Regions from separate parts of the Homo sapiens genome. Here regions 1 and 3 are each linked to region 2. Evidence: promoter capture Hi-C in human tissues and cell types (Jung and others, 2019). All regions are on one chromosome and are shown on one strand. The core of a region is centred on a gene start or on the middle of the fragment in contact, and the rest is flanking DNA. Distances in the headings are between cores, read along the strand shown. Region 1 overlaps LRP2 (LDL receptor related protein 2). Region 2 holds the start of LRP2 (LDL receptor related protein 2). Region 3 has its middle 36 kb from the start of LRP2.

Region 1 (4,588 bases), core at 1,558-4,057, 38 kb after region 2:
GGGGGGCTGACCCCCCCACCTCCCTCCCGGACTGGGCGGCTGCCGGGCGGAGACGCTCCTCACTTCCCAGACGGGGTGGCTGCCGGGCGGAGGGGCTCCTCACTTCTCAGATGGGGCGGATGCTGGGTGGAGGGTCTCCTCACTTCTCAGACGGGGCGGCTGGGCAGAGACGCTCCTCACCTCCCAGACGGGGTCGCCGCCGGGCAGAGGCACTCCTCACATCCCAGACGGGGCGGCGGGGCAGAGGCGCTCCCCACATCTCAGACGATGGGCGGCCGGGCAGAGACGCTCCTCACTTCCCAGATGGGATGGCTGCCGGGAAGAGGCGCTCCTCACTTCCTAGATGGGATGGCGGCCGGGCAGAGACGCTCCTCACTTTCCAGACTGGGCAGCCAGGCAGAGGGGCTCCTCACGTCCCAGACGATGGGCGGCCAGGCAGAGACGCTCCTCACTTCCCAGACGGGGTGGTGGCCGGGCAGAGGCTGCAATCTCGGCACTTTGGGAGGCCAAGGCAGGCGGCTGGGAGATGGAGGTTGTAGCGAGCTGAGATCACGCCACTGTACTCCAGCCTGGGCACCATTGAGCACTGAGTGAACCAGACTCCGTCTGCAATCCCGGCACCTCGGGAGGCCAAGGCTGGCGGATCACTCGCGGTTAGGAGCTGGAGACCAGCCCGGCCAACACAGTGAAACCCCGTCTCCACCAAAAAAGTACGAAAACCAGTCAGGCGTGGTGGCGCGCGCCTGCAATCGCAGGCACTCGGCAGGCTGAGGCAGGAGAATCAGGCAGGGAGGTTGCAGTGAGCCGAGATGGCAGCAGTACAGTCCAGCTTCGGCTCGGCATCAGAGGGAGACCGTGGAAAGAGAGGGAGAGGGAGACCGAGAGGGAGAGGGGAGAGGGGAGAGGGGAGAGGGGAGAGGGGAGAGGGGGAGGGAGAGGGAGAGGGAGAGGGAGAGGGAGAGGGAGAGGCAGAGCAAAAAAGGACCATATCTTATTTTTCTTTTTTCTTCCACTGATCCTAGGACAATTGCATATAGTAGTTATGAATTTATTTGTGGCTTTAGTGAATCTGGCATCATATTCTTTTGGTCCTTATTTATTTATTCATTTATTTTTGCACTTAAATGATGTGTCTACATGATAATGCATCAATTTGCATTGTGGGTTTTGTCCCCAAATCTTTGACTTCTTGAAATGTCCTTATAGTATTGTTTTGCTCTAAGAAAACATCAGGGCTCTGAATCAATAATTGGGACAAAGCAGTCTATTCAGTGGTTTGTAAACTGGATTAAAAAAAAAACCCAAAAGAATTCCTGCCACCTATTTGATGATCTGTAAGGAAAACCAGACAGTTAAAATGTTGCACAGAAAGAGACTAGCAGGTTGGTTTGCTGTTCCTGTCTTGTTTCAGTTTCATTAACTGAATCCTTGACTATTCTATCAATTTGACACTAGACAGGGTAGAGTGCTCCATACAATTTGTTACCCTTGGCTATCATCACTATAGTGTAAAGTTTTGGAAATAAGCAGGTGACTCTAAATCTTCAAAAGGGGACTGGCCTTGTTTATGTGGGCAAGGTATGGGAATTGTAGTGAACTGTCAGCCAACTTATGAATATCAGAAGGATGTCTATCCATACCAAAGGAATCAAAATTAAGTATAGAAAAAGTGAAGCAAAAATTATGGATAAGTTAAGGAATTGCCTCTTAAATTTGTTTGTTTCTTTGAGTTCAGTGAAGGTGGAACTATTAAAATGTGATTTACTCATACAAATTTTTAAAAAGAGGACTGTACCTCCTCAGGTAGACCAAGTGTTTGGAAGGACCAGCATGTGTTAAGAGGATCTAGCGGGGAAATAGGATTTGCCACAGAAATTACCTTACTCTGTTAACTTTGGACAATGTTCCATTGACTACCACTTGTCTTTGTCTTATAAGAATAGAATTTATGGAAGGAGAAAGAAACTTACAAGGAACGGGTAAAAGAATGAAACTGCTATTAATATGACTCAATGTTTTTTTCTTTCTTTTTTTTTTTTTTTGAAAAAAACTTCTAGATATTCCCCTTTTTTCAGATTATTCCAGATTCCATTTTTCTTTCTATGGATTTAAGATGGTAAATTTCTATTTAAAGTCTCATTGTTTGCTCTGATAGCTTTCTATATCTCTGATATATAATGGTCTCAGCAGGCTGAGTTTTACAAAGAGAATTCTACACTTCCTGACGAACATGCATTAGCTATTCCATAAGCACCCGGTGCTGTGCCAGAGGCTGTAAATGACACAGAGGAATGCTCTCAATCCAGTGTTGTTCCTTGCTGTGGAAAACAAACAGGCAAATGACTCCTCTTCTCTGGGCGCTATCTGTTACTCTAATATCTTATCTTAACACATTCTTAGTCCAACACTTACCCAGGAAGCTTGGGATATGGCTACTTATGAAGAAAGGATTACTCTTTTTTTTTTTTTTTCCCCTAGCTTTGGGCTCTTTATGAGGTTGGAAAACAAGTTTATTCCTATGTCTAATAAAATTTTACTACCGATTTCAAAACGCTTAAATTTTTTTTGCATTGCTTTCAATTGCTGCAATTTTTCCTAAGCCCAATAATTTTTTAATGCTATGTTAGTCACCAAGTAAACTACTCTTTTTCTCCAACTGAAGTATATAAGCACTATGGATTCTATGCCAGCCCAATAATGAACTCAATTAATGTTAATTGAGAGCAGCTTTGGGGGAAAAAAATCAGATTTTTACATTCATTCTTGAGTTTAGTGGAATAAACTTTTTTTTTTGGTGAAAGGGAACATAGAGTAGTGGTCAAGTAGCACGAATGCTGGAATCAGAGCTGTCAGATTCAAATCCTTGCTTTGCACATATTTGCTGTTGGATCTTGGGCAAGTTACCGAATTGCTCTGTGCTTCAATTTATTTATTTGTAAAATATTCATAATAACAGTATCTATTTCATAGGGTTATTATGAGGATTAAATGAGCTAATGTTGGCAGAGCACTTAGAATGGTGTGTGCCATTTAAGTGCTATATGAGTACTTCTTTTCATCTTTGCACCATCTATTCTGATTGATGGGACAGACAGGGGCTAGTGCTGGAGAGATAGGGTGTTCATTTGGTTCCGATGGTTCCTTTGTGATGATTGCCTGGTTCTTAACAAAAGGTTTTTATTTCAATGTGGATTGTATTTTCCTCCTTTCCTCCTTGGTTTTTACTAGAGGGATTTTTTTTTTTTTTTAATCAGGCAGCCCCCAAACCAGAGAGGCTCCTGGAGAATGTTTTAAAGTTACATAAATGATTATTTGCAAGATTACTTCTTGGCTAAAACTGGATTGGTTGAATGTGGCAGTTTTGAGACTATTTTCTGAACAAAGTTTTAAAGCTGGTTCTATGTAGATTTTTTTTTTCTCCCTGTGGGTGGCTCCAATGTATGAAATCATCCCCTTAGCTTTTTTTTTTTTTAAATCTTCAAATAAATAACAAAATGTAGATAATATCTAGATAAAACTTTTGGAGGGCTTGTGAGTAAAGGCTACTTATTTAAAACAAAACACTCAAAATAAATTGCATATAGACTAATTGAAGTAAGGGGCACCTGCAATTGTTATTAGACCTAATCTAGACCTTTTCACTAGTGGTTTATTTTTGGTTTATTTTTAAACAACACATATTCCCTTTATGAGAGAATGAGCTTCTGAGGCCAGTGAAGCATTTTGGCTGATGGCTGAGAGGTCACCCAGCAATGATAAAGTATCAGTTTGTTTTTTCTGGAGAGATATTTCCAAACAATAGTCGTTTGGGAGTTATAAACAGGCATCGAAGTTACTACTGAAAAGGTGAATTTGACAAATGAATTATAGATCTGTTGATAAATTGAGTAAATTGGATTTGATATATTAGATAATGGAGTGAGGAGATCAAGTGTGAAAATCACTACCTATAAAAATTAGTTAATTGCAACATTTCCCCATCAGTTTCATTTTTCATATGTGTGATTTTAAATAATTGACTTTGAAGTGTTTTATAAAATGACTTTTGAGTCTCTATTTTGTGTTCTTTTCATGATGTGTTTAACTTGGTATTTTAGTTTGGCAAAAACAAACAAATCCCCCCACCCCACTCCTCAAAAATGGGACTTGTAATAAAAGTTGCTTAAGAAATAGCATTAATTATATATATTTTCAAAACAGGCAATATATATTGTTCTGATAATTTCCTCCTAAATACTCAGTCTCTAAATTTATATTTTTCTTTTCTCCATAGCAATATGAAACTGTCTGTAAGAGGACTGTTCTTTATGATTGTTATAATTTTTCAACCAGAAGATACTACCTTTACAACCTCAGATACTAAGGGAGACAAATGTACTGAACTTACAAATGTATTATGTTGGATTACTAACAATAGACCTAATTGATAAAAGTGATTTAATATATGTTGTGTTAATAGCTAAACCTCCAAAGCCCCTAATCTCCCATGGAAATATTGCTTTGTAGAACAAAATCCAATGAGAAGTTCTGGGATTCCAGAGTGAATTTGTACATTCCTTAGGGGCATTTTTGCAAGGGAGGTTGTTGT
Region 2 (4,436 bases), core at 653-3,152:
TCTCGTACCATCGCCTCGGCCGCCCGGAACCGGCATAAATCACCCGCGAAGACTGGAGTGCAGCATCAAGCCCCCTCGCCGCCTCCCTCCTCCCGCTCCGGTCCGGTCGCCCCCTCCCTCCCCAGACCCCGGCTCTCCTGTCCCCAGTCCTGTCTCCTCCGCGCCGCACAGCGCCCAACACTATGCAGGGAGGCAAATAGAGAACCAGTGACTTTGGCCAGAGCACAGACCTCTGGATTTCCCAATCCAGGAATCTCTCCCACTCTTTCCCACAACGCTGCCCGCTCCACCTTTTTTTCTTTAAGCCTAAGTTTTCTCTTTTTGTGTCTATTTATCTCTTTTTGTCTTTCCAAAGTAACACCTATCCTTTCCCTCCCCTAGCCCCCACACCTAAAGCTGCGCCTACCACTGCAGCCCACGGAAGCTACGCGATCCGGACTGTTGGGGTCAGCAGAGCCCCGGACGACCTGTGCCCCGGGGAAAGGGGCTGGCAGTAATTGGCAGGTTCTCGCCCCTGGGGAAGGGAGGCAGCGGGAACCTGTCCAGCGACCACGTGCGTTCAGGGCTGTCTCCTCCATGCGTCACGGCCCCTTCGCTGGAGGGAAAGGGCTCCTGACTTCTTGGACCAGGATCCGGAGCCTGGGACTAGCTGCCGCGCTGGTTCAGGGGCTGGAGCTGGAGATGATGGGATGGCCTCAGGCCCGCAAACAGCCCCTTCTCACACAGGGTTCCCACCACCGGGAAATAACTTGCATCAACCCTCCTTTTTTACCCCTCCCTGTGGGCTCTGATGTCACGTACAGGCTGAGGACGTGCGCTGAGGGCGGGTGTAAGGCCACTTGTGCTTTTGGCTTCCGGGCCCCTTGCCAGCCTGTCCAAAGCGGCCCCAAAGAAGGGAGGCTAGGGGTTCCCTGAACCTCTCGTGTTTCTCCTTCTTATAAAAGGGTACCGGAACCATGGAGAAGACGTTCGCTCTTTTTCAATTTTGCTTCAAAATGAGCAGACTTGTAAGAAGCACGATCTGGCCATGACACCTGTAGATGTGGTGCTGAATAATTGCTAAATAAGGATCCAACCTCCCCAACAAAGATCCACCTCCCTCTCTAATTTGTAAAAACACAAAGCACCCCATCTCAGCAGCCTGTATCCTATCAGGGGAAACCAAGATATCCGAAGGAGCCTAGAGAGATCAGGCCAGGAATGAAGGTCACAGATCTCCATCCAGCAGGCTCTTTACTCCTTCCCTTCCCTACCCCCGCCTCTTTCCCTTTCTTTCTCTTTCCTTCATTTTTACTTGTCTGGTTGTGCTTTCCTTTTCCATTTCTTATTTTTTCTTTCTCTTCTCTATTCTTGACTTTCCTCCTCGTCCATTTCTTTCCATTGCTCATTTAGTAAAACTGCGTCCGTGCAGATTTCCCCGTGAGCCGCCTCGCCGGCTTCTGTGCGGGGCAAACCCTGCGGAGAGGCGAGGGCAGCGCGTGTGCACGTGTGAGTGTGCCTGTGAGAGTGTGCGCACAGGAGTGTGCTCTTGTATGCACGCGTAAAGGGGACTGTGTATGTCGGCGTTGAAGTGTGACTGTGGAATGTGCGCGCGTGTGTGACTGGCGTGTATGAGTGAATCTGTGTCAGTTGGTGTGACACTTAGGAGTGCATGCGCCTGTATGAGTGCGTGTGTGAGTGTGCACACGCCTGTGTGAGTGTCCCTGTGTGAGCACGCGTGTGTTCGAGTGCCCACTCCTCCCCGCGCTGCAAAGTGCAGGGGGCGGGCCGGGCGGCAGGGGGCCTGCCCGCTGGATTCCCGCATGCTTGTTCCGGGGCGGTCGGGTCTAAAGGGCTTTATGCACTGTCTGGAGGGTGGGGACTGGCGCGGGTAGAAAACGGGATGCCTCGGGCGTGGGGGCAGGCTTTTGGCCACTAGGAGCTGGCGGAGGTGCAGACCTAAAGGAGCGTTCGCTAGCAGAGGCGCTGCCGGTGCGGTGTGCTACGCGCGCCCACCTCCCGGGGAAGGAACGGCGAGGCCGGGGACCGTCGCGGAGATGGATCGCGGGCCGGCAGCAGTGGCGTGCACGCTGCTCCTGGCTCTCGTCGCCTGCCTAGCGCCGGCCAGTGGCCAAGGTAAGAGCCCAGCCAGAGCCTCTCGTGGAGCCCCCACTTCCCCGGCTGTGGCAGGGTCGGGTCCGCGGGAGGCCGGAGGGGAGAGCGTCCGGGCAGGGGCTAGGGCCGGGCGGCGGCGCGGGAGCTGCTCCCGGTGGGGCGCTCAGGTTGCTTCGCGAAGCCGGAGCGGGAGCGCCCCTCTTCGCTCGCCAGGAACTGAGCGGCAGCAAACTTGAGAAAGCAGCCCCGCCAGTTTCGGTGACAGCGCACCCCACGGAGACCCTGTCTTTGTTCCCACGGGCGTTGGTCCGATGCTCCTGGAAAGCACTTTGCGGGAGAACGAGGTTCTCCGCCGTTTGCAGCCTGCCCTCCCTAGCGGAGTTCTCTGCTGGGCGGCGCGGTCCCGGGCTCTGCTCAGAGCGCAGCTTTCCACCTGCAGCGCCCCTCCCGGGATCCCTTCGCGCGCCCAGGGCCGCGGGCCAGAGCACTCCTCCCACCACCGGCGAAACTTGGTCCCGCGGTGACCCCCAGAGACCGCTCTCACCATACAGATCATTTACGAGCCAAGATAAGGCCGGGAGGTGGGATTGGCCGAGAGAGTGGCTGAGGGACTGGAGTCTTTTCTTGAAGTTTTCCTTTCCAGCTGGGAGCTGGGGGCTTTTGTGTTGATGAATGGGGCCCGTCTGCATGGCCAGAGTTTTGGGGATCGAATGCAGAAAGTTTCTAGTATGAAGTGCTTTAAACTTCTCTCAAGTTGTCCGATAGTTTATGTTTTAACAGAAACAGAGAAGAGGGAAAGAGAGGGAGAAAGAAGCGGAGAGAATAAAACTAGTAAGAAGGGAAGAGGAGAGAGCGTAAGAGAAGCAAATAGGAATAAGGAAAGAAGGAGGGAAGAGAACGACTGGGGCGGGAGAAGAGAGAGAGAGAGGAGAGAGAGGAGAGAGACAGAGAGAGAGAGAGAGAGGGAGAGAGAGAGAGAGAGAGAGAGAGACAGAGAGAGACAGAGAGAGACAGAGAGAGACAGAGAGACAGAGACCCGGCCGAGGATGAATGGGAAGGGCGAGGAGGAGGCTGGAACCGGCGAGCTCTCCCCCTGGCTTTGCGTTGCTAGGTAGCAGCCGGGAGCTGCGTGTGACCGACCACCAGACAGACAGAGGGGACGCTGCTGCCACCGCAGGGACTAATCTGTCTGTGGGGATGGGAGAGTCCCCCCTTTCCCCTCCTGCTCCTTCCCTCCCGTCGGACAACTTAATTGCCCTACAATGAAAATGAAACCCCTATTGTTGTAGGATTAGCCAAAGCAATAAATTGATTTTCCTGGATCACATATTGGGGTTGATGGGTGGGGAATGTGGAAGCCCCCATTTACGGAGGAGTGAGGGGAGGGCTTGTGGATGGGCCGTGGCATGTATTCAAATGGTTAATCTGCTTTCTTTCCTCAATTCTTAGCGTAAGCTCCTTAGAGGGAATCAAGTAAGTAATTATACAGCAACTCCTAGCAGCACCCATTTCAGACTTCCTGGGAAGAAGTTTGGAAACCCTAACAAACCCCACAGGTCTTGCAAAAGTCTTCAGAAAGGCAGGAGAGGCAAGGAGAGATCATTAATAACCTTCCTTTGAACACCCTTTCTCAGTGTTGGTAACGCAGAAAGAGGGTTTATTATTATTGTGCAGAGTTTGCACAATGCTTAGGGTTGTATCTCATGTCCTAAATATAGCTATAGGATTTACTATATGTTCCTGTCAGTGCCTGGCAAAAGGAAATCTTACCTTGATTCATCTATGTCCTTGTACAACCAAAACAGATATTCTTTTTCCTGGGTTGATGATTTAGTCACTAAATAACCAATACCTACTCTTCTTGATAGTTTTTTGCACCCATCCATCTTCCATTCTATGATAATAATATATAATAATAATGTGTATAGTAATAGTAACCTAGCATACACATATATGTGGCAGGCTTTGTTCTAAGCACTTTATACTTATTGACTCAATTAATCTTCATAATATCCCTTGGAAGTAAGTACTCTTATTATCACTGTTTTACAGATGAGAAAGTGGAGGCACAGAACAATTCAGTAATTTGTCTCAGTTCATACTGCTAGAAAATGGCAAACTCAAGGGATTCTGAATTCAGAGTCTATAATTGCTACAGTATACAGTGTCTGGTTTTCTCTCTCTCTCTCTCTCTTTTTTTTTTTTTTTTTTTTGAGAGAGACAGAATCTCGCTCTGTCACCCAGGCTGGAGTGCAGTGGTGCAATCTCGGCTCACTGCAACCTCTGCCTCCCAGGTTCAAGCGATCCTCACACCTCAGCCTCCCAAGTAGCTGGGACTACAA
Region 3 (4,725 bases), core at 833-3,332, 37 kb before region 2:
GGTTATTTTGCTCGTTAGTTGATGCAGTGTCTTCCTAGCCACGATGGTCTTTACAATTTGGCATGTTTTTGCAGTGGCTGGTACCAGTTGTTCCTTTCCATGTTTAGTGCTTCCTTCAGGAGCTCCTTTAGGGCAGGCCTGGTGGTGACAAAATCTCTCAGCATTTGCTTGTCTGTAAAGGATTTTATTTGTCCTTCACTTATGAAGCTTAGTTTGGCTGGATATGAAATTCTGGGTTGAAAATTCTTTCTTTAAGAATGTTGAATATTGGCCCCCACTCTCTTCTGGCTTGTAGAGTTTCTGCCGAGAGATCAGCTGTTAGTCTGATGGGCTTCCCTTTGTGGGTAACCCGACCTTTCTCTCTGGCTGCCCTTAACATTTTTTCTTCATTTCAACTTTGTTGAATCTGACAATTATGTGTCTTGGAGTTGCTCTTCTCGAGGAGTATCTTTGTGGTGTTCTCTGTATTTCCTGAATGTGAATGTTGGCCTGCCTTGCTAGATTGGGGAAGTTCTCCTGGATAATATCCTGCAGAGTGTTTTCCAACTTGGTTCCATTCTCCCCGTCACTTTCAGGTACACCAATCAGATGTAGATTTGGTCTTTTCACATAGTCCCATATTTCTTGGAGGCTTTGTTCGTTTCTTTTTATTGCTTTTTCTCTAAACTTCTCTTCTTGCTTCATTTCTTTCATTTCATCTTCCATCACTGATACCCTTTCTTCCAGTTGATCGAATCAGCTACTGAGGCTTGTGCATTTGTCACGTAGTTCTCGTGCCATGGTTTTCAGCTCCATCAGGTCCTTTAAGGACTTCTCTGCATTGGTTATTCTAGTTAGCCATTTGTCTAATTTTTTTCAAGGTTTTTAACTTGTTTGCCATTGGTTCGAACTTCCTCCTTTAGCTTGGAATAGTTTGATCATCTGAAGCCTCCTTCTCTCAACTTGTCAAAGTCATTCTCTGTCCAGGTTTGTTCCGTTGCTGGTGAGGAGCTGCGTTCCTTTGGAGGAGGAGAGACACTCTGATTTTTAGAATTTTCAGCTTTTCTGCTCTGTTTTTTCCCCATCTTTGTGGTTTTATCTACCTTTGGTCTTTGATGATGGTGACGTACTGATGGGTTTTTGGTGTGGATGTCATTTCTGTTTGTTAGTTTTCCTTCTAACAGACAGAACCCTCGGCTGCAGGTCTTTTGGAGTTTGCTGGAGGTCCACTCCAGACCCTGTTTGCCTGGGTATCAGCAGCGGAGGCTGCAGAACAGCAGATATTGGTGAACAGCAAATGTTGCTGCCTGATCATTCCTCTGGAAGTTTTGTCTCAGAGGAGTACCCGGCCGTGTGAGGTGTCAGTCTGCCCCTACTTGGGGGTGCCTCCCAGTTAGGCTACTTGGGGGTCGGGGACCTACTTGAGGAGGCAGTCTGTCCGTTCTCAGATCTCAAGCTGCGTGCTGGGAGAACCACTACTCTTTTCAAAGCTGTCAGACAGGGACATTTAAGTCTGCAGAGGTTTCCGCTGCCTTTTGTTTGGCTATGCCCAGCCCCCAGAGGTGGAGTCTATAGAGGTAGACAGGCCTCCTTGAGCTGTGGTGGGCTCCACCCAGTTCGAGCTTCCCAGCCGCTTTGTTTACCTACTCAAGCCTTGGCAATTCTGAGCGCCCCTCCCGCAGCCTCGCTGCTGACTTGCAGTTTGATCTCAGACTGCTGTGCTAGCAATGAGCGAGGCTCCATGGGTGTAGGACCCTCTGAGCCAGGCGTGGGATATAAACTCCCGGTGTGCCGTTTACTAAGACCATCAGAAAAGCGCAGTATTAGGGTGGGAGGGACCCGATTTTCCAGGTGCCGTCTGTCACCCCTTTCCTTGGCTAGGAAAGGGAATTCCCTGACCCCTTGTGCTTCCTGGGTGAGGCGATGCCTCGCCCTGCTTCGGCTTATGCTCAGTGCACTGCACCCACTGTCCTGTACCCACTGTCCGACAATCCCCAGTGAGATGAACCCAGTACCTCAGTTGGAAATGCAGAAATCGTACGTCTTCTGCGTTGCTCACACTGGGAGCTGTTCCTGTTTGGCCATCTTCTTGATCTTTTGAATTATTTATAAGTTTAGATTATCTGGGGTCACTGTTCTTCTCCATCAAACTAGGTACTATAAGGTTGATTCAAGAAGAGATATATTCTTCATGTGGGTTTGACTTTCACAAACTTGCTTTTTCTGGTAGTAACTACCAGAAAATAGCTACCACGTGTACGTATATCTGTGTGTGTGTGTGTGTGTGTGTGTGTGTGTGTGTGTGTATTTCATAACATACATGCAAGTACCAAGATAAGCATTTTAAATTTGCATCTCATTTAATCCTCACGATAGGGAGGAAATTGAAATTTAGTAAAATTCAGAGACTTGCTCAAGATTGCCCAGCTAGAATTTGGACTTTGATGTGTCTAATTCTTAAATTCACGACTTTTCTCTTTGGTAATCTGTGTTAAACATGTTAGTTTTATTTGCTAAAATATTGACTTCATCATGGCTGGGTGCAGTAGCTCACACCTGTAATCCCAGTACTTTGGGAGGCCGAGGCGGGCGGATCACCTGAGGTCAAGAGTTCGAGACCAGACTGGCCAACATGGTGGAACCCCGTCTCTACTAAAAATACAAAAATTAGCTGGGCATGGTGGTGCATGCCTGTAATCCCAGCTACTTGGAAGGCTGAGGCAGGAGAATCGCTTGAACCTGGGAGGCACAGGTTGCAGTGAGCTGAGATCATGCCACTGTACTCCAGCCTGGGCGACAGTGAGACTTTGTCTCAAAAGAAAAAAAAAAATGAATACATTAAGTCCTCAATGTCATCAATAGGTTCTTGGAAATGGCAACTTTAAGCAAAATAAGATATAACAAAACCGATTTTATTTTTCTCATTGACATTATAACTAAGCCAGCCATGGTGGTTCATGCCAATAATCTTAGTTTCTCAGGAGGCTGAGTCAAGAGGCTTGCTTGAGGCCAGGAGTTCAAGATCAGCCTGGGCAACTTAGTGAGACTCCCATCTCAAAAAAAAAAAAAAAAAAAAAAGACATTATTCAAAGACCTGTTGTACCTCATTTTGCTTAAAGTTGCATTTCCACAGGACTTAGTGTACATTGTTTTGTCAACCGAATGAAAATTGCTTCTTAATGTTAGGAAAAAATGCAAGCAGAGAGGATACAGAAATAAACCTGTTAATTATGTATGAAACAAGACCTACTAATTTAACCTGGCTGTCTAAGATACAGTTCGCTTTCAGTAAACATCACAGATTTAAATCATTTTTTCCTCTAAAACATAAAGGGAAATTTTAGAAATGTCAAATTATATAGCAAGAATGTCAGTGAAAAAAAGGATTGTATCTGGCCACTGGGTGTCAATCTTGATCCACAGTCACAGGGAAAGAACACTCTTTTATGACTCCAGCTTTTCTTTCTCATTCTCTCCGGAGAGAGTTAGGAGAGTGATTTTATTTATAGCTAATAGGACACATTTTCTCTCTTAAAATCTTTGTGATTTCTAGTCCACTACCATGAAGATTATAATCTTCAGAGAATCTGAGGAGGAAAAAAAGACTAAAAATAGCAGCCAAAGAAACATCTTTAACAAAAATGCACTACATTTGCAGTTCTAAAATTATTCTGGGCTGGGTGTGGTGGTTCATGCCTATAATCCCAGCACTTTGGGAGACTGAGGGAGGAGGATCACTTGAGCCCAGGAGTTCAAGACCAGCCCGGGCAACATAGTGAGACCCTCTCTCTAGAAAAAAAAAAAAAATTAGCCGGGCATGGTGGCACGCGGGCCTGTTGATCCCAGCTACTCAGGAGGTTGAGGTGGGAGGATCGCTTGAGTCCAGGAGATTGAGGCTGCAGTGAACCGTGATCGCACCACTGCACTCCAGCCTGGGTGACAAGAGTGAGACCTTATCTCAAAAAAAAAAAAAAAAAAAATCATTCTGGGATAAGCTTGGCCAGCTGTGTAAGACATTATTTTGTGACTTGATTTCTGTACAGTTCTGACTATGTAAAATTTCAAAGTTCCATATGTCAAATATTTGTCTGGAAAATCTAGCTCTTTTAGTGAAATGGTATGTTTTATTATATGATTACCATTTTAAACTAGGAAAAAGGTGAAACTTCAGAAGGTTATATAATATAGGGGGATTTCTCAGCCTCACAGTTCCCTTACCATTACCTCCCTCTAGTGCATCCTTCCAGAATCTAGATATACTCTATACATACATAAGCATTTATGTCTACATAGCTCCTCTGTTTTTAAATACACAAATGGCATAGTCAACATGCCATTCTGAAACTTTTTTTTTTTTACATTTAATAAAGTATCTTGGACATTGCTTTGAATCAGTTAATGTAGATCTGCCTTATTCTGAATTGAGACCATACTTTAAAAAAAGACATTAAATAGTGCTCTGATGTTCTCATCTTTTAGGATTTTACAAGTGGCACCAAAGGCAAGAATTTGGTCAGACATGCCAATCCAGATTAGAGGAAATGGAACGCAGAGGAGCTGGACATCCTCACCTCTCATGGTCTGCAAGTCTTTGATTCCCCTTCTCCTCCTCCTCCTTCCAAACCCCTCCAACACTCTTGAACATATCTCTGACTTCTGTTTATCTTACACTTGCTGACAAATCTCCTTGGAAGCTGGTGGTCCATTTAGCCATGCCACAGCCATATCATGGCCCCCAAGACACAC

The links. The method cuts DNA at HindIII sites, captures the fragments that hold promoters and counts their contacts. A contact is called where the count stands out against the background at its distance.
Region 1: a contact is called between a fragment that was not itself captured here and the fragment with the promoter of LRP2 in region 2, in 1 of the 25 tissues and cell types used here (neural progenitor cells).
Region 3: a contact is called between a fragment that was not itself captured here and the fragment with the promoter of LRP2 in region 2, in 1 of the 25 tissues and cell types used here (adrenal gland).

What each region holds. Positions count from the first base shown.
Region 1 is chr2:169,322,514-169,327,101 of GRCh38, reverse strand. The region is part of intron 1 of LRP2 (LDL receptor related protein 2); the gene reads left to right. Among named protein-coding and RNA genes, the nearest start is that of LRP2, 38 kb to the left of the region's middle. The HindIII fragment of the contact is 4,731 bases long and covers 442-4,588 here.
Region 2 is chr2:169,360,000-169,364,435 of GRCh38, reverse strand. It overlaps LRP2 (LDL receptor related protein 2), which reads left to right and starts at 1,902. Exons shown (of 79, transcript NM_004525.3): 1 at 1,902-2,115. The coding sequence starts at 2,037. RefSeq lists enhancers at 784-1,417, 1,418-2,051. The HindIII fragment of the contact is 10,463 bases long and covers 1-4,436 here.
Region 3 is chr2:169,396,548-169,401,272 of GRCh38, reverse strand. No RefSeq gene overlaps it. Among named protein-coding and RNA genes, the nearest start is that of LRP2, 36 kb to the right of the region's middle. The HindIII fragment of the contact is 5,640 bases long and covers 1-4,725 here.